3 separate regions of the Homo sapiens genome follow, and all the other regions are linked to region 3. Evidence: promoter capture Hi-C in 16 types of primary human blood cells and fetal thymus (Javierre and others, 2016). All regions are on one chromosome and are shown on one strand. The core of a region is centred on a gene start or on the middle of the fragment in contact, and the rest is flanking DNA. Distances in the headings are between cores, read along the strand shown. Region 1 overlaps TNKS (tankyrase). Region 2 overlaps LOC105379231 (a long non-coding RNA gene). Region 3 holds the start of TNKS (tankyrase).

What was found. Contacts are between HindIII fragments. The CHiCAGO score rates a contact against its expected background, and 5 or more counts as called.
Region 1: a fragment that was not itself captured here is called in contact with the fragment with the promoter of TNKS in region 3 in 1 of 17 cell types (naive CD4 T cells); the score reaches 5.6 in naive CD4 T cells.
Region 2: a fragment that was not itself captured here is called in contact with the fragment with the promoter of TNKS in region 3 in 1 of 17 cell types (endothelial precursors); the score reaches 6.7 in endothelial precursors.

What each region holds. Positions count from the first base shown.
Region 1 is chr8:9,769,851-9,772,915 of GRCh38, reverse strand. TNKS (tankyrase) reads right to left here. Exons shown (of 27, transcript NM_003747.3): 26 at 2,654-2,810. Among named protein-coding and RNA genes, the nearest start is that of MIR597, 30 kb to the right of the region's middle. The HindIII fragment of the contact is 3,049 bases long and covers 1-2,848 here.
Region 2 is chr8:9,368,955-9,371,886 of GRCh38, reverse strand. All of the region lies in intron 1 of LOC105379231 (a long non-coding RNA gene), which reads right to left. LOC105379230 (a long non-coding RNA gene) reads left to right here. Exons shown (of 3, transcript NR_188127.1): 3 at 1-342. It also overlaps the pseudogene RNU6-526P. Among named protein-coding and RNA genes, the nearest start is that of TNKS, 190 kb to the left of the region's middle. RefSeq lists an enhancer at 2,597-2,646. The HindIII fragment of the contact is 1,722 bases long and covers 786-2,507 here.
Region 3 is chr8:9,554,452-9,557,657 of GRCh38, reverse strand. It overlaps TNKS (tankyrase), which reads right to left and starts at 1,746. Exons shown (of 27, transcript NM_003747.3): 1 at 1,046-1,746. The coding sequence starts at 1,718. RefSeq lists enhancers at 742-1,401, 1,402-2,063 and a silencer at 1,484-1,643. The HindIII fragment of the contact is 11,121 bases long and covers 1-3,206 here.

The DNA of each region.
Region 1 (3,065 bases), core at 75-2,574, 220 kb before region 3:
TTGCCCCTTCCCTATCCCTGTATACTAGATACACCCACACCCACACATACGCACTACACACACACACACACACACACACACACAGACACACACACACACACACACAAACACACACACACACATTCTCCCCAAAACGTTTACAAGTTATATACATCATCATGGTCCTTTATCCCTAAATATGCCAGTATATATTTTCTAAGCATAGACATATTGCCTTACGTAAGTACAGAATCAACCTTATAATTTTACATTGATACAATCCTTTTATTTAATGTCCATATTCCAATTCTGTCAGTTGATCTAATAATGTACTTTCTCTTCCAATACTGGATGCAGTTGGGGGCAGAAGGTTAACTTCGTTTTCATGTCTCTTGGGCCTCATGTAATCTGGAAAGTTAGCACAGCCTTTCTTTTATAATATTAACATTTTTGAAGAATACAATCTTTCAACATTAAAAAAAGTAAAACATTCCTCATTTTGATTAGACTTACATCATGTATTTTTGGCTGGAATGCTGCAGAGATGTCGTGCCTTTAGAGTATCCACCTAGAGAGATAATATAAGCCTATCTGTCCCTCATTGGTGATGTTGATTTTGATTATCTGGTCAAGGCATTGTCCCCTTTCTCCAATATATAATTACTCCTCCCCCCAGCCCCCTTTGAAAGTAAGTCTGTAATAAGAAAACCACGCAAATATTCTTCTCCTTAGTGAAACAATCCCCATATTTAGCATCCATTAATAATTCTTGCCTGGTCTAATAATGGGTACATGATGAGTCCCATGTCATCCCTCCCTCCACCCGTCCTTCCCTGTTTCTCCCTCCCTCCTTCTCTCTCCCTCTCTCCCCCTCCATCCCTCCCTACCTCTGTCTCCTCTCACTCCCTCCCTTTCTCCCTCCCCCATCCCTCTGCCTATCCCTTCTTCCCTCCCACCTCTTTCTCCCTCTCACTCCCTCCCACTCCCTCCCTCTCCCCCTCCCTCCCTCTTCCTCCCTCTCTCCCCATCCCTTCCTTCTGCTCTCCCTCACTTTCTCCCTCCGTTCCGCTCTCTAGCTCTCTCTCCCTCCCTCCCCTCTCTCCCCGCTTCATTCCCCCTTCTCCCTTCCTCCCCCACTTCCCTTCTCCTCTCTCTCCTGCCTTCCTTTTTTTCTCTCTCCTTCCTCCAATCCTTCCTTTCTCACTCCCTGTTCCTTCCTCTCTCGCTTTCTCCCTTCCTCTCTCTCTCTCTCTCTCTCCCTCCCTTCCTGCCTCTCCCCTCCATTCATCCCTCTCTCTCTTTCCCTCCCTCTTTCCTTCCTCTCTTCCTCCCTTCTTTCTTTCCTCTCCCTTTCTCTCTTCCTTCCTCTCTCGCTTTCTCCCTTGCTTCCTCTCTCAGTCTTTCTCCCTCCCTTCCTCTCTCTCCCGTTCTTTCCTTCCCTTTATCTCTTTCCCCCTTCCTTCTTCTCTCCCTCCCTTCTTCTCTCTCTTTTCCTTTCCTCTGTCCCTCCCTTCCTTAGTATCTGTCTCCCTTTCTTTCCCTCCCTTTCTCTCTTTCCCTCCCTCCCTTCCTCTCTCTCTCCCTCCCTGCTTCCCTTCCTCTCTCTCCCTCCTTTCTTCTCTCTTCCTTCCTTCCTCTCTCCTCCCTCCCTTCCTCGCTCTCTCTTCCTCCCTCACTTCCTTCCTCCCTCCCTCCTTTCCTCGCTCTCTCCCTCCCTTCCTCTCTCTCTTCCTCCCTCACTTCCTTCCTTCCTCTCTTCTCTCCCTCCTTTCCTTCCTGTCTGTCTCTCTCTCTCTCCTTCCCTCCCTTCCTTGGTTTCTCTTTCTCTCATATACACACACATGCTTATATTACTACTTACCCATAAATTTACATGGGTGTACACACACGTTAGAAACCATGAGATCATAGTAATACTTCCAATTTCAGTCCACCCTTAGAGTCTTTCTTACCTTCTCCATTCCATATTTGTATGTCCCTTCTTCTACCATGAGAATTTTGGCTCCTCAAATCAATACATCAACACATCCGCTCATGTGCTCAATCCTATAATATGCTTAAGAGTTTCACTGTTTTGCCCACGGTATCTCCATCAACACATTTACTAAAAGGAGTTCAGGATTCCTTTGTCAGTCTTCCCCCAACAGCATTCCCTACCCTGCCCATGACTGAAGGCACAGTATAAAATACTGTTTTCATAGGTTATATATATTTAGTTATTTCCTTCTTTATTTTTCTCTTTTATTGTAGTTATGGTATTCATTTGAAGTTCACTTACATTCAGACAAATTGTTTTTGTTTTTGGACAAATCCTGTGGCATGTACATCCATGAAGACCCACTAACAGCAGCTGCCCTGGCATGCTGCCCACGAAGTGGCACAAGGCATTAGTTCAGAGCTGCAGGCCTCAAAACGGCATGAGGGCCCAAGCCTTTGTTTCTCAGCTGCCCTCTTGTTCACACTGTGTTATGTGGCTGACAGCTACTAATGGGTTTTAGGTAAAAAGTTGATGTCAAAGAATTATTTTGATACCTTTATTTTGTATCTGAAGTAATTAATACTAGCACACTGTGTGGTGGATATTTCACTGAAAAGTGTCTCAAGTCTTACACGGTCTCTGTGCTCTATTGACATGTTTGTGAACTTGGTTATGCTTGTTTGATGAGTAACATACCTGTTCTCCTCTGTAGATGACATATTCAGCATATGCCAGCCCATTGACGCTCGGTCTACCAATGACTGAGTGGTGCCCTGGAGGCGCGTGGGCCATTTTCATGGTGCTAAACTGCAGAAAGGATTTCCCAAGGGTCACTCTACAGAAGAGCATTTGTCTAAGGAAAAAGAAAAAAACAATGCTTTGAAGGAAGCTTTAAATCTTACAATAATATAACTGCTAGATCTATTAATTTTTTAAAAATTTAACATAAGGCAAGCTAATTTAAATGTCATTTTCAGATTTATGAGTAGGAATGGGATGGAATTTGATATAATGATTTGCTATAAACAGTTACCAGACTCAATAGTTACACTTAAAGTTTAAAGTAGTTTTGGTATGGCTTAGGAATCGGCCATAGAAAATGCCTGCT
Region 2 (2,932 bases), core at 397-2,896, 190 kb after region 3:
AGAGTCATCTCACTCTCTGACCTTGACTCATGATCTGAGAACAAGTGCTCCCCTGCTTGTCTTCCTGAGGGGCATCTGTCCCTCTTGCAAACAGATTTCCTTTGGGCTCTGTCATTTAGAAATGCCCTTATTTATCTGAATTATAGTTCCAGTTCAGAACATTTACAAAGGAACAGATTGCTCCCAATTTTAAAGCAGGTAAATTCTAAAAGTTGGCAAGCCAGTCATTTAGAATTTGAGCCTCATATTCCATAGGTATGAAATTATACATAATGAAAAAGTTCCCAGGGCAGCCCACAAAAAGCCTACTTATCCAAAATAAAGCTAACCTGAGTTAATTCAGCTCTATGGCCTAGCCACATTCAGCAATGTGTTTCCATTAGAATGCATGTCTTATATCAACTGGGAAGCCAAGAAGGCAGTTCAGAACTGAACTGAAATCTATCCTGTGTTGGAATTTTATAGCCAGATATCAGTTAACCAGGCCCCAGTGAGTGGAGAAATCTTGGATTTAGATTCTCATGAAATTCTTTATCAAATCCTGGGATCTTCCAAAAGACTGTGTAAAATTATAATTTAATTCTGCAGAAGTAGAACCTCAATTGGATATCATCCACAAAAGCACTGCAATGTCTATCTTTTTGGGATCATGTCAAAGATCCTAAATCCATGCTTACTTTGGCAGAAAGTATTAGTGTTTAGTTCATTAGTAATTGGCACATTGGAATGATATAGAGAAGATTAGCACGGCCCTGCACAAAGATGCCGTGCAAATTTGTGAAGCTTTCCATATTTTTATTGCATTTACTCCATCATATGTGGGAGCTAAAAGAAGGTGATCTTACAGAGGTAGAGAGTAGAACGTTTACTAGCAGTTAAGAAGGACATGAAGGTGGGGGAATGAAGAAAGGTTGGTTAGGGGTACAAACATATAGTTAGAAAGAATAAGTTCTAACGTTAGATGGTAGAATAGGGCGACTGCATTACATATTTTGAAAATAGCTAGAAGATAGGACTTGAAATGTTCCCAGCACCTGGAAATAAATACTCCAGCTGGATACCCTGATACCCTGTCTTGATCATAACACATTCCATGCATGTAACAAAACATCACATATACACCATGAATATGTGAAAATATTATGTATCAATTACAAAAAGATACTAAATCAAGAAGGAATGCAGGCACCGCTGTTGGAGGTGGCCCTGGCATCTGGTGATGAGTAGTAGACAGAGAGACGCAGGCGGGACATAAGAGAGGCCGCAAACTGTAGGTACCTGATTCAGGAAGCCGTTTTGATCCATTGTGAATGTAATTAAGTTGTGTTTTCTGTTCCGAAAGGATAGCCGTCCCTTCGCCATTTGTCTATTCCCCATTTTTCTGTACTAATGTTTCCTTATCTTACACTGAACAGGCGAACAGGCTATTAAATAATACAAGGAAGAAAACATGAGGGATTGTCTTTAAAAGTGATCAAACGGCAAAGGGGATTCCTGACCAAAGCGAAAGAGGAATGGAGTGACACCTGCTATGTGCCAGTCACTGTGCTGTGTCTTTTTTTCTTTTCTTTTTTTCTTGTTTTTTTTTTTTTTTTTTTTTTTGAGACGGAGTCTCGCTCTGTCGCCCAGGCTGGAGTGCGGTGGCGCGATCTCAAGCTCCGCCTCCCGGGTTCACGCCATTCTCCTGCCTCAGCCTCCTGAGTAGCTGGGACTACAGGCGCCCGCCACCACACACGGCTAATTTTATGTATTTTTAGTAGAGATGGGTTTCACCCTGTTAGCCAGGATGATCTCGATCTCCTGACCTCGTGATCCACCCGCCTCGGCCTCCCAAAGTGCTGGGATTACAGGCGTGAGCCACCGCACCCGGACTGTGCTGTGTCTTTTCAACTGCCTTTCTTTATCCATTCTCATTAAAAACACACACACACACACACGAAATGCATATTGTTATCCCTACTTAATTGACAGAAATGGAAGCCCGGTGGGTTACAGTAGACTGAGAGCCTTTAGTCAGCAAGTAAGGGCCATTGCAGGGATTGAAACCCAACTTCTGACTTCAGAGCGACAGTTTTCCCGCTGCTCCGCAGCACCTTCTACCACTGAAATAGAGCATTTCCATGTCACCCCCTCTAGAAACAAAAACATTTTACTCAATTGTTTTTCAACCAGGAAATAAAAATATTCAAAAAGCAAAGATGACCCCATTTCCTCTTAACTATATTTAATACAGGGACAGTGATAAGAGAACACAGTAGATTTGGCATTAGCTAGACGAGGCTGGTCAAACTGAATTAGAAGGGCACAGTTTGTTGACAGCCGCGATAGACAGTGGGTTCTGTGAAATGGACCCCAAGCCAGTTAACACTGATGGGGAAGAAGCCCACCTGCTCGTGAGACTTTGCGTGGGGCCCGGCTCAGTGCCTTAAATAAGGGATCATTATGTATACAATCTGATAGTAGAAAGAAGGAAAAAAGCCCTGTGCTGTAGAAAAAGTGTTTAAGCTTTTTAGATTACATAACGGGAGCTATAACATCCACTCTGGTGGCACAAAAATTAAATCTAGCCACCAAATCATATCAAAGCCAAAATACAGAATACAGGTGTGCTTCTCGTGAGAAGATCCATACGCACAAAATCTAATCGCGTTCCAGCTCAGCCTCACCGATACCCGCTCCCGCGATCCTGTTTCTGGTGCTGCATGACAAGCTCCCCCTAGTGGGAAGCAGGGACATTTCAGCATCCATGCTCAGCTGATTCAGAACAATAGAAATGTCTCAAGGTTTCCATTTTTTTTAAATGCTGCTTTAGTTGGACAGTGAGCAAAAACTGGAGCCAAAACCAGTGGATTTTCATGGCATGCAGGTAACAGTGGGACTTTTCACCCTCCCCTCGTGTTTATGCTCAGGAAATCCTAAAAGGACACACCCT
Region 3 (3,206 bases), core at 497-2,996:
TGATGTTTCTGTGTGATGCCTTTCATTTTGTATTTTTCTGTCCTATTTGAATTGTATAACGTACAATATATGTATTTCCAATATAATGTTTCTAATGTATAAAACATTATTACCTACATTTTTAAAATATCAACAATAGGTATCCAGGCAGTGAGATTATGGTCCTTTGTTTTTATTTTACAGTTCTCTTTATTTTATAAACATATTATTAGGTGTCTTTGAGAGAAAATCATCAACTACTTGCAAAAAAAAAAAAAAAGACAAGTGTGGGGTCCAGAGCTTAAGAAATTCACACTTTTTGAGGGAGAACTTTGTGCCAGATACTTCTCACCAAATGCTCGCACAACATCATTTTATGATTTTTGCCCATGAGAAAACTGAGGCAACTGACACGAGGTAAATGGTCTGCTAGACAACAAATAATAGTGGCCACAACATCAAAGCCTATATTTCTTCCATCATCATATAATGCATCCAAATATTCTTCTCCAGTTGTTTCACATTGGCATATTTTGGTCTCCCCGTCTAGACTGCAAACTTCTTTAGAAGAAGGGAAACTTTCAAACACTTCATTTATGTCTTTCATTGGGTTATTAAGGCTACAATAGATCCTCAAACATGTGTTGGGTTGTATTAAACCTCTTTTGGTCTGGACTGTCCTCAAAGGACATACCCTTGTAAAAACAAAATAAACTAGCACACAAACGACAAAACTACTCTAAAGCTGTCCAAATCTAACTGTATTCCTGCACACCAAAAACTAAAGTGTAAATATATCCATATGCAGAGACTACCAACTACAGTGAGTTTTGTAATGAGTACTGTGCAACCACTGAAGAATTCCTTGGATTCACTTATCCCCCCCAACCACGCCCCCATCACCCAGGCACCACCAAAAGAAAGGAACCTCCAGTCTTCTGGTGAGGTGATGAAGAACCATAACCACGCCCCCACTTTGTCCCATCACAATAACCTGTTTTCTTGTCCTAACCGGACCCTGCACCCAAACCCATAACCCTTAATAAACAATTCAAAAGTCTCTGACCTGCAGCGAAGTGCAGGGGAGAAGACTTCCGGCCGGCCATGTCCTTTGCATTTACGTTTGCCGCGTCCACCAGCCTCTTTACCCGGGACACGTCCCCATTGCGACAGGCCTCCAGCAGTTCCCGTAGGGCCCCGCTCACTGCTGGGACCCCTGTCCCAGGTCCTGCTGCCCCAGGCCCCAGTGGTGCTGTGCTGCTAACTCCGGCCGCCTCGGGGCTCTCCGCCAAGCTCGATCCAGGGGAGGATGGAGAGGAAGATGAGGAAGAAGTCGGGGAAGAAGAGGACGACGGTGAATTGTTACTGCCACTGCCGGCTGGGTTGGGAGCGACCCCAGCGGCAGATGAAGTAGAAACCGCTGGGACCACGGGAGCGGCGGCGACGGTACAGATTGTGCTGGTGGTACTGCAACAGCTGGTACCGTCAACCGGGTCCGGGGATCGGGGCCTGTCGGGCGGATCCCGACTGCCATCCCCCTCCGGCAGCGCTAGGCCGTGCCGCGGGGAGGCGAAGGGGGCCAGGCCGCTGGCCGTGGGAGAGGCTGGGGTGGTCCCCGGGGCCAGGCCAGGGCTGAGTGGGGGAGGAGGTGGCGGCGGCGGCGCTGAAGCCCCTGGGGCGGGCTGGAGCTGTTGTTGATGATGGTGGTGATGATGCTGAGAGCGACGCGACGCCGCCATCTTCGGACTCCCCTAGCACTGTCACTGCGGCAACGGCCCCCACCGCCCGCCCTCACTTCCGACTGTCGGACCAATCAGCATCCAGCGCACAGGAAATGATGCTAGGCGGGGTAGCAGGGGCCAAAGAGAAGGAGGGAAGTATTGGGAGCTCAGAGAACAGCCAAGGGAACGGGGCGGGGCTTTGTCACTGAGAGGCGGGCTTTGTGACGTGGTGGCGGGCCGGCTGGAGAGATTTGAATGCTGGAACCAGCTTCTGCCTAGATGGGAAACATTTCCTGCATTTCTCACTTTCAGTCGGCTTTCTTTGCCCTGCTCCGCTCTGTTTCCCTTAGTCTCCCTTTGCTTGCTCCAGAGCCAGCTGTTGAGATGCAGATCAGAGCAAGCAGGGAATGTGTCCGTTATCATCTATTAAGCGTCCTTGTCTGAAAAATGGAACTTATAGTACCAACCTCACAGAATTATTAGCGGGATTAAAAGAGCTAACAGACAAAGCGCTCTGCCAGTAAAACACAAGTATAATTAGCCCGTTGGTAATTTTTTAAATTATAGTATTTCTTTTCCAGGTGTCCCCTTGAGCTCTTGTCCCTTCCCTATAATTTTTCTCACCCTATGTGCTTTAATTCCTCGTTTTTAAATGCTGGTTCAGATTGCTAGGATTGGCGTTCCAGCTCTGCCATTTGTTGTTTATATATGTACTTGCTATTTCATCACTCTATGCCTGTTTTTCTCTGTAAAATTGAAATAACAATAGTGCAATAAGTGTGAATTATTAAAATTATGATTTTTTTTTCCTATTCTGCTCTCTCTGAAATTTTATTTTTCACCCTAAGTGTAACTAATTATGAATATATTCCTTTCTTTTGAATTCTGGCTTAGCTTAGCCTCTCCCACACCCGAAACAGATAAAAACCTGATTGCTAGGCTGGTCACGGTGGCTCATGCCTGTAATCCTAGCACTTTGGGAGGCCGAGGCCGGCGGGCCACTTGAGCCCGGGAGTTCAAGATCAGCCTGGCCATCACGGCGAAGCTCCATCTCTACAAAAAATACACAGATTAGCTGGGCAAAGTGGCACATGCGTGTAGTCCCAGCTACTCAGGAGTCTGTTGGGAGGATCACTTGAGCCCGGGAGGCAGAGGTTGCTGTGAGCCGAGGTCACACCACTGCACTCCAGCCTGGGTGACAGAGGGCGGAGACCCTGTCACAAAAACAACAAGAAAACATAACAAAAACCTGATTGCTGTCCATTACTCACCATCAGGTGCTATTTTTCAGCAACTGCTTTTTCTGTCTTTCCCCCAACCTATGTATACTTTTGTTTTTCTACTATCAAAAGATGTATCCATGAATGAGATAATCCCATTGAGGACTCCATTTCATACCTACTGTTCAATAGTAAAGCAGGCATTGTAGAAGTATACAGAAACAGCATTATTCCAATAGAGTGGACACAGATGGAAATTCTGTAAGAGAAACAAGATTTAGATGAG